Regions from separate parts of the Homo sapiens genome. Here all the other regions are linked to region 1. Evidence: promoter capture Hi-C in 16 types of primary human blood cells and fetal thymus (Javierre and others, 2016). All regions are on one chromosome and are shown on one strand. The core of a region is centred on a gene start or on the middle of the fragment in contact, and the rest is flanking DNA. Distances in the headings are between cores, read along the strand shown. Region 1 holds the start of AMHR2 (anti-Mullerian hormone receptor type 2). Region 2 overlaps AAAS (aladin WD repeat nucleoporin). Region 3 has its middle 3.5 kb from the start of SP7.

Region 1 (4,651 bases), core at 1-2,500:
TCCCCTCCTGAGAGCTTGCGTCTCAACCCACCCCCACCCTGGTCACAAGACCCCTTATCTCCCAGTCACCAGGGCAACCAACTTCCCAAGGCCAGGAGGAGGAAAGCGTGGGGCGGGAGTAGGGTGAGAACTGGCCCTGGTTCCACCTCTCATCCTAACCTGGGCCCCAGCCCCCATCAGGCTTCAGTACCCTTGGGTGGCTACCTGGGGCAGCCTGGGGACCCTGGGAGCCAGGAGTCCCAGGGCTCCCTGGAGGAGGCAGATGGCTGTAATTGGCATTGCAGAAGTCAGTGCCACAGGAGCAGGTGAAGAGAGTGGAGCCAGGGCTGGGGTGGGCTCGGGGACTTGGGTCACAGTGGAGGGACTCACAGCCTGGCTCATCACTGTCTCGGCATCCTGATGGGATGGGATTAGGGGAAGAGGAGAGAAAGGGGGGGCAAGGAAGAAAGCACAATGGGGTGTGGAAACAGAGGGTAAATCCCTTCTCTATCAGAGGCGTCCCTTCCAGCTCTCATGGGCTTTTCTTTCCCACCAGATGTTCTATTTCTCCCCTTCCCCCTTGGTTGCCACCCACACCCCAGGATGTGTCTGTCTCCCACCCTAGCCATCACCTGCCATATACTTTGCCATTCACCTTGCATTTCCACCTGTGCCCGGTCTTGGGTCAGGTTCCAGATCCCAAAGCAGCAGCGGCTGTAGAGGCAGCGGATAGCTCTGGGGAGCTCTGTGCCTGTATCTAGCAGCTCTCCCAGTGTCTTTGTGCTTCCCCGCACTCCAGGGGCCTCAAAGAACACACAGGTTCGCCTGTTTGGGGGTGCTGAGGCCCAGGGTGGGGAAAGGAAAAGATTCAAGGTGGGAGTGAATGCAGAGGCAAAAAACTGGCCAAAAGAATAGACAAAACATGTTCCACATCCCAGCGTCAGTATGGTAAAGCCACAGGAGGAAGCAGGGTCAGCAGAGGCCTGGAACCTGAGCCCTGCCATGGGGACACATGGCTCTATCCTTCACCCTTACTCACCCAGCCCACTCACCACTCTTCCAAAGGGGTGGCTCTTGCTTCAAGCGCCCCTTTCCCTTGCTGGATGGATGGAGAGACCCTTCCCCTCCCTGTAGACACTTACCTTCCACAGCTGTGGGAAGTAATGCCCAAAGCCCCAAAGACCCTAGCATCTTGCTGGAGGATGGCAGCAGCAGAAGGAGAAGAGCATAAGCCAGCACAGCTGCCCCTGGCCAAATCTTTCTTCAGATACAGGGCATCCTGGGGCTTCTGATCCCTCAGTCCCCAACTCCGCCCCCCTCATCCTATCCCAGCCTCTGTGGGGGAGAAGGCTGCTGTGGGGGAGAGGGTGGGTGTGGGGAAAGCAGGGAAAGAAAGGGAGGAGCAGAGAACCAATCTCATATCCTCTTCTCTTCTGCAACCTCCTCTTTGCTCTGCATAGTGAGAGGAGGGGAACTTGGAGGCCCAGCTGAGAACCCAGTGATGCCTAATTTCAAATCTTTGCCCTTCCCTGACCTTGGAAGAAGATGCTGGACTCTGTTGACTCTTCTCAGGAGGAAACCAATGTGAGGTCAAATGCTTAGAGCCATTCAGCTCTGCCCAAGATCCTTTCTAGCCTAAGATCTCTTTATATTCAGGGTTCATATCTGCAACTGCTTGGGCAGAGGAAGGCCTCACAGCCCATATTAGAGGTTACCTTGTTTTCCAACTTAAGAATCAGAAAGTATACAAAACTTACCTGAATTTTTAAAAAACACATTGAAAACAGTAACAATGGTAAATTTTGCTATGTGGATTTTTTTTTTTTTTTTTTTGAGACGGAGTCTCGCTCTTCTCCCCCAGGCTGGAGTGCAGTGGCACGATCGCAGCTCACTGCAACCTCCGCCTCCTGGGTTCAAGCTATTCTCCTGCCTCAGCCTCCTGAGTAGCTGGGATTACAGGCGCCTGCCACCACACCTGGCTAATTTTTGTATTTTTAGTAGAGACGGGGTTTCACCATGTCAGCCAGGCTAGTCTCGAACTCCTTACCTCAGGTGATTTGCCCGCCTCGGCCTCCCAAAGTGCTGGGATTATAGGCGTGAGCCACCATGCCTAGCCGTGGATTTTACTTAAAAAAAAAAAACACATTGGTTCACAGGCTGAACAAATACCCATTATTAAGGAGGTAACAAATTTCTTATCAAGCACCTACTATGTGCTGGGGCACAGCTAGGGCTATGCATTTTACAATCATCTCATCTAATTCTCCCCTGAAATATTTATTATTATTATTTTATTTATTTATTTTTTGAGACCGAGTGTCGCTCTGTCACCAGGCTAGAGTGCAGTGGTGCCATCTTGGCTCACTGCAACCTCTGACTCCCTGGTTCAAGCGATTCTCCTGCCTCAGCCTCCCGAGTAGCTGGGATTACAGGCACGCACCACCATGTCCAGCTAATTTTTGTATTTTTAGTAGAGACAGGGTTTCACCATGTTGGCCAGGATAGTCTCGATCTCGTGACCTCGTGATCTGCCCGCCTTGGCCTCCCAAAGTGCTGGGATTACAAGTGTGAGCCACTGTGCCTGGCCTATTATTTTTATTATTTCCATTTTATAGGTAAGAAAACTGAACTTACGTAAGTCGCCCAAAGTCATTCAGCTAGGAAATAGCAGAGCTGGAATTTGAACTTAGGCAGGTCTGACTCCAAAGTCCAGGTTCTAGTCTTATTTTTATTATTATTTTTGTACTTTTAGTAGAGACGGAGTTTCACCATGTTGGCCAGGATGGGGTCGATCTTTTTTTTTTTTTTTTTTTTTTTGAGATGGAGTCTTGCTCTGTCGCCCAGGCTGGAGTGCAGTAGCGCGATCTCGGCTCACTGCAAGCTCTGCCTCCCGGGTTAACGCCATTCTCCTGCCTCAGCCTCCCGAGCAGCTGGGACTACAGGCGGCCGCCACCACGCCCGGCTAATTTTTTGTATTTTTAGTAGAGACGGGTTTTCACCGTGTTAGCCAGGATGGTCTTGATCTCCTGACCTCGTGATCCGCCCGCCTCGGCCTCTCAAAGTGCTGAGATTACAGGCGTGAGCCACTGCGCCCGGCCGAAGGGGTCGATCTCTTAACCTCGTGATCCCTCCGCCTCGGCCGCCCAAAGTGCTGGGATTGCAGGCGTGAGCCACCGCACCCGGCCGGCTCTATTCTTTGTATTACACTATACTGCCTGAAAGACGTACAAAATTCAACAATGAAAAAAAATTACCACTTAATACTATACTTGGACATTTGAATTTAAATTGTTGAGAAAATATGCATCATTACCTGCCAACAGGCCACTAACTAAAAAGGGAGGGTACAGTTCAAACTATCACCACCAGAGGTCAGCAGAGGAGAAATTCCCTGCTGCGGTGAGAGGGCAGAAAGTACCTCCTCTGATGACTAATACATATAGTATACCTCCTACATTTACTAAGCTTCAGGGACTATAAAATGTGAAGGGCGGGCACAGGATGTGGAGAGTTTCAGCATGGAGTTGGGAGGAGAGGGCTATGGCTTGTTCTGCAGTAGAGACAGAGGAGTCCAACTCCACCAGACTCTTTCCCAGAGTAAGAAACAACAGAAATAGGTAATCACTTCCACACCTGTGAGCCACTGGCTCCTTGAGAATTAAGAGTCAGAGGGGACTTGTTCTCTGTTTCCCTAGCTTTCTGTCCCCCTAGTGGCTTCCTGGAAACCCTTTCTTGGAATGATCTGGCTTAGACCAGGGAGGACAGTCTGAGTACCGACATTTTTTTTTTTTTTTTTTTTTGAGACGGAGTCTCGCTCTGTCACCCAGGCTGGAGTGCAGTGGTGCGATCTCGGCTCACTGCAACCTCTGCCTACCGGGTTCAAGCGATTCTCCGGCCTCAGCTTCCTGAGTAGCTGGGACTACAGGCGCATACCACCACGCCCGGCTAATTTTTGTATTTTTAGTAGAGACGGGGTTTCGCCATGTTGGCCAGGCTGGTCTCAAACTCCTGACCTCAGGTAATCCGCCCCCCTCGGCCTCCCAAAGTGCCGGGATTGCAGACGGGAGCCACTGCGCCCAGCTTGAGTACTGACTTTTTGATTCTGGGGTCTTTCTTCTGGGAAACCTGCATGAAAGGAAGAGATAGTAAAAGTTCCAGTAGTTGTGAAACAGCAGCGGGAGGAATGACCAGGGCTCGAGATAGCCGCCCATCCTTCTTTGGACCCTTCCAGGAGTCTGCAGGGCCTTGCCAGTGAGATGGAATGTTGTGCTTCCAGCTACTTTCCTTCACTAGCCCCAGATCAGATAAGTCTGGGGTGGTGTGTGTGGTGGGGTGTGAGGGGAGATTTGAAGGTGAAATAGCTTCTTTTGTCTGGAATGTCTCAGGAGACTATCTCCTCCAGAGTGGGAGCAGCGTAAGGATCAGGCAGAAAGGCAGTCTCCTCACCCAAAGCTTCGGATAACTAATTCTTTCCAAGATAGAAACATTCCAGTCAGGTTTATGGGAACTATACCTGCTCTGGGCTGTTAGGTTTTAGAGTTAAGATGGTGATAGAGGCTGGGCGCTGTGGTTCATGTCTGTAATCCCAGTACTTTGGGAGGCCAGGAGTCCCCCTGGGTAACATAGCGAGACCCCCACCTATATTATTTTTAAAAAAAAATTTCCTTTTTTT
Region 2 (4,506 bases), core at 1-2,500, 110 kb after region 1:
TTGTCTACCCGGTAAGTCCTAGTAGCCTGCCTTACCTTGGCCTGAGAGTTGTGCAATGCTAGGCATGGTGGGTGGTGAGGACGTCTGAAAGGAGAAGTTCTTTGTCCTCACAGCACTTCCCAGGGCTATGGGAAAAGCAGAAGTAAGATCAAGGTGGGTTGCTGAGAATACTCTAATCTGGAGAAAGAGAACTAGGGGCTTTTTGGATTGTGGGGACAATGTGTCTGTGGGTTACGGGGTGGAAAGACTCTTTCAGAGGACTATACACTTCCTTTACACTTAAAGGAAGTGTAAAGAAAATTAGTACTAATAAGATCAGAAACTAATAAAATTAGAAAAAGAATACCTGTGAAAACTAACTAAAAATAAAACCAGAAACTGGTTCTTTAAATTATGACTAAGCTGGGTGCGGTGGCTCATGCCTGTAATTCCAACACTTTGGGATGTGGAGGCGGTTGGATCACCTGAGGTCAGGAGTTCGAGACCAGCCTGGCCAACATAGCAAAACCTTGTCTCTACTAAAAATATGAAAATTAGCTGGGCATGGTGGTACACACCTGTAGTCCCAGCTACTCGGGAAGCTGAGGCAGGAGAATCGCTTGAATCTGGGAGGCGGAGGTTGCAGTGAGCCAAGATCATGCCACTGTACTCCAGCCTGGGCAACAGAGCGAGACTCTGTCTCAAAAAAAAAAAAAAATTATGAATAAAGGCTGGGAACAGTGGCTCACACCTGTAATCCCAGCATTTTGGGAGGCCAAGGCGTGAGGATCACCTGAGGTCAGGAGTTTGAGACCAGCCTGGCCAACATGGTAAAACCCGTCTCTGCTAAAAATACAAAAATTAGGCCAGGCGCAGTGGCTCATGCCTGTAATCTCAGCACTTTGGGAGACCAAGGTGGGTGGATTTCTTGAGGCCAGGAGTTCGAAACCAGCCTGGCCAACATGGCGAAACCCCATCTCTACTAAAAATACAAAAAAATTAGCTGGACGTGGTGGTGCGTGCCTGTGATCCCAGCTACTTGGGAGGCTGAGACACAAGAATCACTTGAACCCGGGAAGCGGAGGTTGCAGTGAGTTGACATCATGCCACTACAGCTGTACTCTGGTCTGGGCAACAGAGTGAGACCCTGTCTCAAAAAAAAAAAAAAAAAAAAGGCCAGGCGCGGTGGCTCACGCCTGTAATCCCAGCACTTTGGGAGGCTGAGGCGGGTGGATCATGAGGTCAGGAGATAGAGACCATCCTGGCTAACACGGTGAAACCCCATCTTTACTAAAAATACAAAAAATCAGCTGGGCGTGGTGGTGCTCGCCTGTAGTCTCAGCTACTTGGCAGGCTGAGGCAGGAGAGTCACTTGAACCTGGGAGGCGGAGGTTGCAGTGAACTGAGATCACGCCACTGTACTCCAGCCTGGGCAACAAAGCAAGACTCTGTCTCAAAAAAAAAAAATATATATATATATACACACACACACACATATATGTTTTATATATATACACATATATATACACGTATATATATATATACGTGTATGTATACGTGTATATACGTATATATATGAATAAAGAAGAAAACCTCTTGGTTAGCCTAATTAAGGAGAAAAAGAAAACCAAAGTATACTATTTTCAGAAGTGGAAAGATATAGATACGGGAGAAAATAGAAGAATTATAAAAGAATATTGTGGACTTGTTTAGGCCAACAGATTTGAAAATCTGAAGGAAATGTTTGATTTCTTTTTTTTTTTTGAGAAGGAGTTTCACTCCTGTTGCCCAGGCTGGAGTGCAGTGGCACGATCTCGACTCACTGCAACCTCAGCCTCCCGGGTTCAAGTGATTCTTCTGCCTCAGCCTCCCAAGTAGCTGGGACTACAGGCACGCACTAGCTAATTTTTGTATTTTTAGTAGAGATAGGGTTTCACCATATTGGCCAGGCTGGTCTTGAACTCCTGACCTTGTGATCCGCCCGCCTTGGCTTCCCAAAGTGCTGGGATTATAGAAGTGAGCCACCGTGCCCTGTGGAAATGTTTGATTTTCTAGCAAAATATAAGTTACCAAAGTGGATTGTAGAAGAAAATAATGAGATTTTTTTTTTTTGAGATGGAGTTCCACTTTTGTTGCCCAGGCTGGATGGAGTGCAGTGGTGCAATCTCGGCTCACTGCAACCTCTGCCTCCCGGGTTCAAGTGATTCTCCTCTTGACTTCGTGATCCGCCCGCCTCAGCATCCCAGAGTGCTGGGATTACAGGCGTGAGCCACCATGCCCGGCCTGTCCTCCCTTTTTTTTGTTGCAGGATCTTCCTGATTTATTTTTATAAAGCTAATGTAACCCTGATACCTAAACCTTGACAATAGGTACTATAAGAAAAAAACACGTGATCACAGATTTTTTTTGGGGGGGGATGGAATCTCACTCTGTCGCCCAGGCTGGAGTGCAGTGGCGCCATCTCAGCTCACTGCAACAACCTCTGCCTCCTGGGTTCAAGCGATTCTCCTGCCTCAGCCTCCCAAGTAGCTGGGACTACAGGTGCGTGCCACCACACCGGCTAATTTTTTATTTTTAGTAGAGACAGGGGTTTCACCATATTGGCCAGGCTGGTCTCAAACTCTTGACCTCAGGTGATCCGCCTGCCTCGGCCTCCCGAAGTGCTGAGATTACAGGCATGAGCCGCTGCAACTGGCCTGTTTTTTGGTTTTTTTAGAGATGGGGTTTCATTATGTTGCCCAGGCTGGAATACAGTGGCTATTCACAGACTCAATCATTGCACACTACAGCCTTGAACACCTGGGCTCAAGTGAGCCCCTTGCCAAGTAGCTGGGACTATAGGTGCGTACACCACGCCTGGAAGGTTGTTGGTTTTTTTTGTTTCTACTAAAAATACAAAAATTAGCTGGGTGTGGTGGCGTGCGCCTATAATCCCAGCTACTCAGGAGGCTGAGGCAGGAGAATTCACTTGAACCCAGGAGGTGGACGTTTCAGTGAGCTGAGATAATGCCATTGTACTCTAGCCTGGGTGACAAGAGCGGAACTCGATTTAAAAAAATTTTTTTAAATAAATGAACAAAAAACAAGGCCAGGCGTGATGGCTCATGCGTGTAATTCCAGCACTTTCGGAGGCTGAGGCAGATGGATCGCTTGAGCCTAGGAGTTTGAGACTAGCTTGGTCAACATAGATGCTGTCTATACAAAAAATAAAAATAAAAAAACTAGCTGGGCGTGGGGTGTACGCCTGTAGTCCTAGCTACTTTAGAGGCTGAGGCAGGAGCCTCAGGACTTTGAGGCTGCAGTGTGCTATGACTGTGTCACTGCACTCCATCCTGGAGTGTGAACCACCATGCCTGGCCCAGGAAATATTTTTTACAGCATTATGTATAATAAAAAATTACAAACAAGTCAAATGTCCATTTGTAGAGGCATGACTCAATAAATTATAGTTCATCTATTGAGTGGTATACAATGGAGCCACTGAAAAGAATGAGATGAATCTGAACCCACCTGCAAAGGCAGCTGTGATTTATCATAAAGTTCAAGAGAATTAAATTGTACATCCATGACTAAGACTTCACTGGAGCTGAAGGTGGTTATAGTTAGGTGGAAAGAGAGGTGGCATTAATTCAGGTAGTAGCCTTCGTCTGTCAGGCCAGGCACATGGCTCTGGAAATACACAGCTGCAGACACATGGCAGGTGCCCTCAGGTAGTTCCCTGCTGGTGATGGAGGCCGAGCCACATGCTGCATCTTTTTTTTTTTTTTTTTTGAGACGGAGTCTCGCTCTGTCGCCAGGCTGGAGTGCAGTGGTGCAATCTCGGCTCACTGCAACCTCCGCCTCCCGGGTTCAAGCAATTCTCCTGCCTCAGCCTCCCAAGTAGCTGGGACTACAGGCGAACACCACCACGCCCAGCTAATTTTTTTGTACTTTTAGTAGAGACGGGGTTTCACCATGTTGGCCAGAATGGTCTCGATCTCTTGACCTCGTGATCCGCCCACCTCGGCCTCCCAAAGTGCTGGGATTACAGGCGTGAGCCACTGCGCCCAGCCTGCAGCATCTTTATGATAAGGAGCAAACGCGGGAGCTGCAGAGTTGGGAGGTACTTTGATAAGGCAAGGCAGGAGGGCTGTTTGGGAGCACAGGATGTGTTCTGAGGAGTGTTAGATAACTGGAGAGAAAAGGTTGGAACCTTGAAGTAATGTCATAGATTATTAATCCTGGATAGATGGATGGCCAGGCTGGATGGCCTGTGGGCAGAGAGCTGTGTTCTGGGGTAGGGCCTGATATCGCCCCAGGGGCAGTACCTTCTAGGTTACTGGTTAGGTTTTGCCTCATGGCCTATCTCGTGAAAGCACTCTTTCACCCTGGCCTGAGACCTTGCAGATTACCTCTTCTCTGTTGACCTGCTCGTGGTGACTTGGTCGTTTTTCCCCTTCGCTGTTTTTTTCTTTTAACTTTCACAATCCTTATTCCTTTTTCACAACCTGGATTTGAGCCCAGAGTGGGCCATCAGGATAGGAGGTT
Region 3 (4,651 bases), core at 1,421-3,920, 84 kb after region 1:
CAGCCTCCAGAGTAGCTGGGATTACAGGCACGCGCCACCACACCCAGCTAATTTTTGTATTTTTAGTAGAGACAGGGTTTGTTTGTTTGTTTTTTGTTTTTTTTTTTGAGACGGAGTCTCGCTCTGTCGCCCAGGCTGGGGTGCAGTGGCGCGATCTCGGCTCACTGCAAGCTCCACCTCCCGGTCACGCCATTCTTCTGCCTCAGCCTACCAAGTAGCTGGGACTACAGGCGCCCGCCACCACGCCCGGCTAATTTTTTGTATTTTTAGTAGAGACAGGGTTTCACCATGTTAGCCAGGATGGTCTCGATCTCCTGACCTCGTGATCCGCCCTCCTCAGCCTCTCAAAGTGCTGGGATTACAGGCATGAGCCACCTCGGCCAGCCTGAGACAGGGTTTTGCCATGTTGGCCACGCTAGTCTCAAACTTCTGACCTCAGGTGATCCACCCACCTCGGCCTCCCAAAGTGCTGGGATTACAGGTGTGAGCCACCTCACCAGGCCTGTATTTAGGATTTTGAAGGACCATTCCCTTGAGTTGCTCAGCCTCACTCCTAGGGATGATGTGATCAGAACTCCATCACCCCAACTTCTTCTTATGAAAGACACTAGTATATTTCATGGATCAGATTCTAGGGTATCGTTTTTACAAAGGGTCATTTTCTAGAGATGACCAGGTTCTTACTTAATTCAATGTTGTCCCATTTTAGACACGGGCATCCAGGACAGGTCCCCTTGTTTCAGAATCAGACCCCAGTCTTCCTCTTCCTTTCATTTTTCACTTTGTCCCCTGCCATCCAGATTCCTTCCTGCTCCTTCCATGGCACTTCTGTTTCTGATTCTGATCTGCCTCTCCTAAAGCTGCTGAATTATATCAGGGCTCAATGTCAATGAAGGAACCCAAGGCTCAGGGAAGAGGGGAGCCAGAGTCAGTCCCAGAGGTCCTGCCTTGCAGCCCTGGTGCTGGAAGAGGGGATGGGGAGACCTAGCAGAGAGGGAGGGAAGTTGTAGTCTGTCTGTACCTGTAAATTTGTGTACATATTTGTTGGGGTGAGGAACTCCTTTTCCAAGCTGTCCTATACAAAGGTTGCCAGCCTCTTAAAAGCTTCCTTTCTACCCTGTGTCCTCAGCTTTGCCTCCTAAAATTGGATCCTCTTCCCCAAGTACCCTGAGCCTAGTGTCAGAAATGCTGGGTCAAGGCACTCGGCAGTCTCTAAATCCTGAGGCCATGAATGGATGTTCCTTCAACCCAAGGAGCAAGCTTTCCTGGTCATCAGCCCCATTGCTCTTAGAGGACCCAACAGACTAGTAGCTGATCCTCAGGGTCTCTCATCTGTATGCCCACCATTTGTTGTTTCCTCTTTGTCTCTCCTGTGTCTTTCTGTTTCCCTGTCTCTGCGTGCCTTCTTCTTTCCTGTCCCCTCTATGTTCTCTGTCGCTGGAGTATCCACTGGAGACAAGGGCTGGGCTGGGTGCATGGGCGGGTAGTGGCCAGACCAGGGGCCCGGGACATGAGCGCAACTTTCCAAGCTTCTCTTCCAGGCCCCTGTGGTTGGGGAGCTCCACAGAGGGAGAGATGAGTCAGCGGGGCCGCAGAGCAGCGGGGGCCTGGGTGGGGGTAGGGATGCTGGGGTTCCCCAGGACCAGGGAGTTCGCTGGGGCCATCTGGGTCTCTGAACTCTGGTGTGTGTGTGGAGTATTGGATCAAAAGTACCTAAAGGTACACTGGAACTTCTTATACTAGTAGGAGTTGGAGGCAGCAATTTGCAGGACTGGCAGTGGCCTCCATATCACCCTTATCTCCAGATCCTTATAGGGAGAGGGGTTCCCAAATGCCCTTTAGGAGACCACAGAGATCTCCAGGGCTGTAAAGTTGTAATGGTAGCCCTGGGTATATGTATGTGACATTTGCCACATGTGTAGATACGTGTGTTGATGGGAGTCTGTGAGTCCATGTGGGGAGTATTCTAGGTGGCTGTGAGTCTGTATGCATGTATATATATACTGGTGTGTGCATTTTTATGATTGGGGGTTAGGGTGTCTTGGGGTAAGCATTATCTGTATATGTATATATCAGTGTGTGTCAATATGGATGCCTGCATAGTACAAATGTGTATGAATTATGTGTCACCTTGTGTGTGTGCAAGTATGCAGATCTGAATGTGTCTGTCATCAGGTATGTATTAGGGCATGTGTCAGTCTCTATTTCAGGGGCTCTGCTCACTATTCTCTGGTGATTCTCCCTAGGGTAGTCAAACCTTCTATAACAGCAACAATGAAGAGTTGGGAGTCCCTTTGGATGAGGCTCTTAGAGACAGCCCAGCCTAGAAAGGTGGTAGAGGGTGATGGTGTGGACGATGGAAGTAGCATCCCTTGGGAATAGGGGGTACAGGTCTCCCACTCTCCCCAGTTTTTTTTTTCTTTCTTTTTTTTTTTTTTTGAGATGGAGTTTTGTTCTTGTTGCCCAGGCTGGAGTGCAATGGCATGATCTCAGCTCACTGCAATCTCCACCTCCTGGGTTCAAGTGATTCTACTGCCTCAGCCTCCCAAGTAGCTGGGATTACAGGCACCCGTCACCACGCTCAGCTGATTTTTGTATTTTTAGTAGAGACGGGGTTTCACCATGTTGGCCAGGCTGTCTCAAACTCCTGACCTCAGGTGATCCACCCACCTTGGCCTCCCAAAGCGCTGGGATTACCGGCGTGAGCCACTGCACCCGGCCCCACTCTCCCCAGTTTTCATTCTGTTTTCACCCCACTGATCTTTCCAAAAAGATCCAAAATCATTTGGAGAACTGAGGCAGGTGCCAGATTCAACCCCCTCTAACCTACAAAGCCCACCCTGATTCTCCTAGGGGAGGGTGGGAAGGGAATGGTTCCTGTGGTTCAGCCCAGTCCTGGCATTGGGATATCAGAAAGGCATCATCCCACCCCTTCCGTCTGGGGCATCCATCCCTTGGAGCTCAGCGTCTGGGTGGCCATGGGCGGAGGCTGAGGGGCCCCCAGGGTGGTGGGGGGTGGTGGATAGAAACCAGATGCCTAGGGGGTTTATACTGGAAGGACCAGAGCCGCAGCCTCTACCCGCCCCTGCCACATGGCGCCTCTCCCTGGTCTGCCCCACCCCCTGGGAGGCTGGGCTGAGGGAGGCCTGAGAGGGTGGAGGTAGGTCCTTGGTTAGGGCTTCCAATTGCTGCCCCCAGCCCCTCAGGGCACTGGGAAGGAGACTGGGGAGCTGGACCCAGGAACACCAGAGCCTCAGCTGGGCTGCAGGACTATTTTTAAAAAGGACATGGAGAAGTCAGAACCCAGGGGTTCCTGAGGGCAGCAGCTGGGGGATTCAGGCAGCCCCTCTGCCTATCTTTGGCGCTGATCTCTGGTGGGGAAGAGGCTCTGTGTCCAGAGGGTGTCCTATGTTGACACATCGGGGCACTGGCTCACATCTTCCTGGGACTCTGCTCCTCCTTTTTATTTCTCCGAGAATAGTAGGGTTCGAATAGAGAATAGTAGGGTTTGAATACGTCTGCCCCTTCCCGGGTAGGGTTAGGGATTAAAGCCCACACGGGGAGTGAGAAGGTGACCCTTCCTTCCAACTCCTCTCCCCAGCCCTGTCTGTCCATTTATCTTTCCATCCTTCCTCCTTTTCCCCTTCAGTTTCTTCCTTTCTTCTCTCATCTAATCTGAGTCCCAACCCCCTCCTCACCTGCTATCTCTTCTTTAGAATCTAGACTTTCTCCTCCTCTGCCTCAGTTTCCTGCCTGATCTAACTGGGTCGGGCTTTTCTGCTGGTGATACAGGAATTTCTCTAAAGCTTCTCTTTCTCAACTTCTGAGTTCGGGGCCCCGGAAAGCCATCTGGCACCTCAGTCTCAGACTCCCCCCCAACAAGGGGGAGACCGCGAGGTCACAGGGACACCCCACCACGGGCACTTCCTCTCAGGCAGACGGGTGGGGTGGCCCGTGTAATCAGCGGACACAATTATGTGCTATTTATACTCCTTCCCCGCCCCCCCACCTGCCTGGCAACACAACCCTCCTCCTCCTCCTCCTCCTCCTCCTCCTCCGGACCTGGCTATGCCTCAGGCTATTTTCTCTGTCCTTCCCAAGCCATTGTCTCCCCATCTTTGTTCCTCTGGGCCTGTTTCTTTATCTTTTTAGTTTCTTTCCTGCTCTGTTTTTTGTTGTTGTTGTTGTTGTTGTTTAAAGCCACACATCTGGTCTTCTGTTTTCCTGTTTCCTCTCTCTTATACCTGGTGATATCTCTTCTGATTGTCTTGGACTCTTTCATTTGCTCTGTTTCTTCTTTTGCTGCTTTCTCTTTGTCTATCAGCCACCTGGTTCCCAAACCCTTCCCCTAAACCTTGGGTTCCCAGAGTTCCTTGAGGTAAATCAAATCATGGGGCTAGAATCCAGAACTCCTGGGCCCTACCCTGAAATTGGTGCCTACCTGCTGGCGAAACTGCTGTGCAACCCTCCGTGGACCTCCATCTGCTCCTGCCACCTCCCAGCTTTTTCTTTGGAGATCTGGGAGAGCAAAAGGAGCAAGGAATTGGGCACTCCGAGAAAGTGAGGGGATGGTGTTGCAGAGTGAGGAGAGTGGAAAGGATGGGGCTTTATTCCCCTGACAGGGAGAGCTGGGAGGGGGAGAAGTGTGTGT

What was found. The method cuts DNA at HindIII sites, captures the fragments that hold promoters and counts their contacts. A CHiCAGO score of 5 or more calls a contact.
Region 2: a contact is called between a fragment that was not itself captured here and the fragment with the promoter of AMHR2 in region 1, in 3 of 17 cell types (M1 macrophages, naive B cells and total B cells). The highest score is 6.0, in M1 macrophages.
Region 3: a fragment that was not itself captured here is called in contact with the fragment with the promoter of AMHR2 in region 1 in 17 of 17 cell types (M0 macrophages, M2 macrophages, activated CD4 T cells and 14 more); the score reaches 19.0 in M0 macrophages.

What each region holds. Positions count from the first base shown.
Region 1 is chr12:53,420,454-53,425,104 of GRCh38, reverse strand. It overlaps AMHR2 (anti-Mullerian hormone receptor type 2), which reads right to left and starts at 1,250. Exons shown (of 11, transcript NM_020547.3): 1 at 1,122-1,250; 2 at 635-817; 3 at 205-396. The coding sequence starts at 1,170. RefSeq lists a cis regulatory region at 3,163-3,681 and an enhancer at 3,366-3,932. The HindIII fragment of the contact is 5,088 bases long and covers 1-3,446 here.
Region 2 is chr12:53,309,803-53,314,308 of GRCh38, reverse strand. AAAS (aladin WD repeat nucleoporin) reads left to right here. Exons shown (of 16, transcript NM_015665.6): 7 at 1-11. Among named protein-coding and RNA genes, the nearest start is that of AAAS, 9.6 kb to the left of the region's middle. The HindIII fragment of the contact is 8,864 bases long and covers 1-4,506 here.
Region 3 is chr12:53,337,514-53,342,164 of GRCh38, reverse strand. It overlaps a transcript of SP7 not described here. Among named protein-coding and RNA genes, the nearest start is that of SP7, 3.5 kb to the right of the region's middle. The HindIII fragment of the contact is 2,277 bases long and covers 1,532-3,808 here.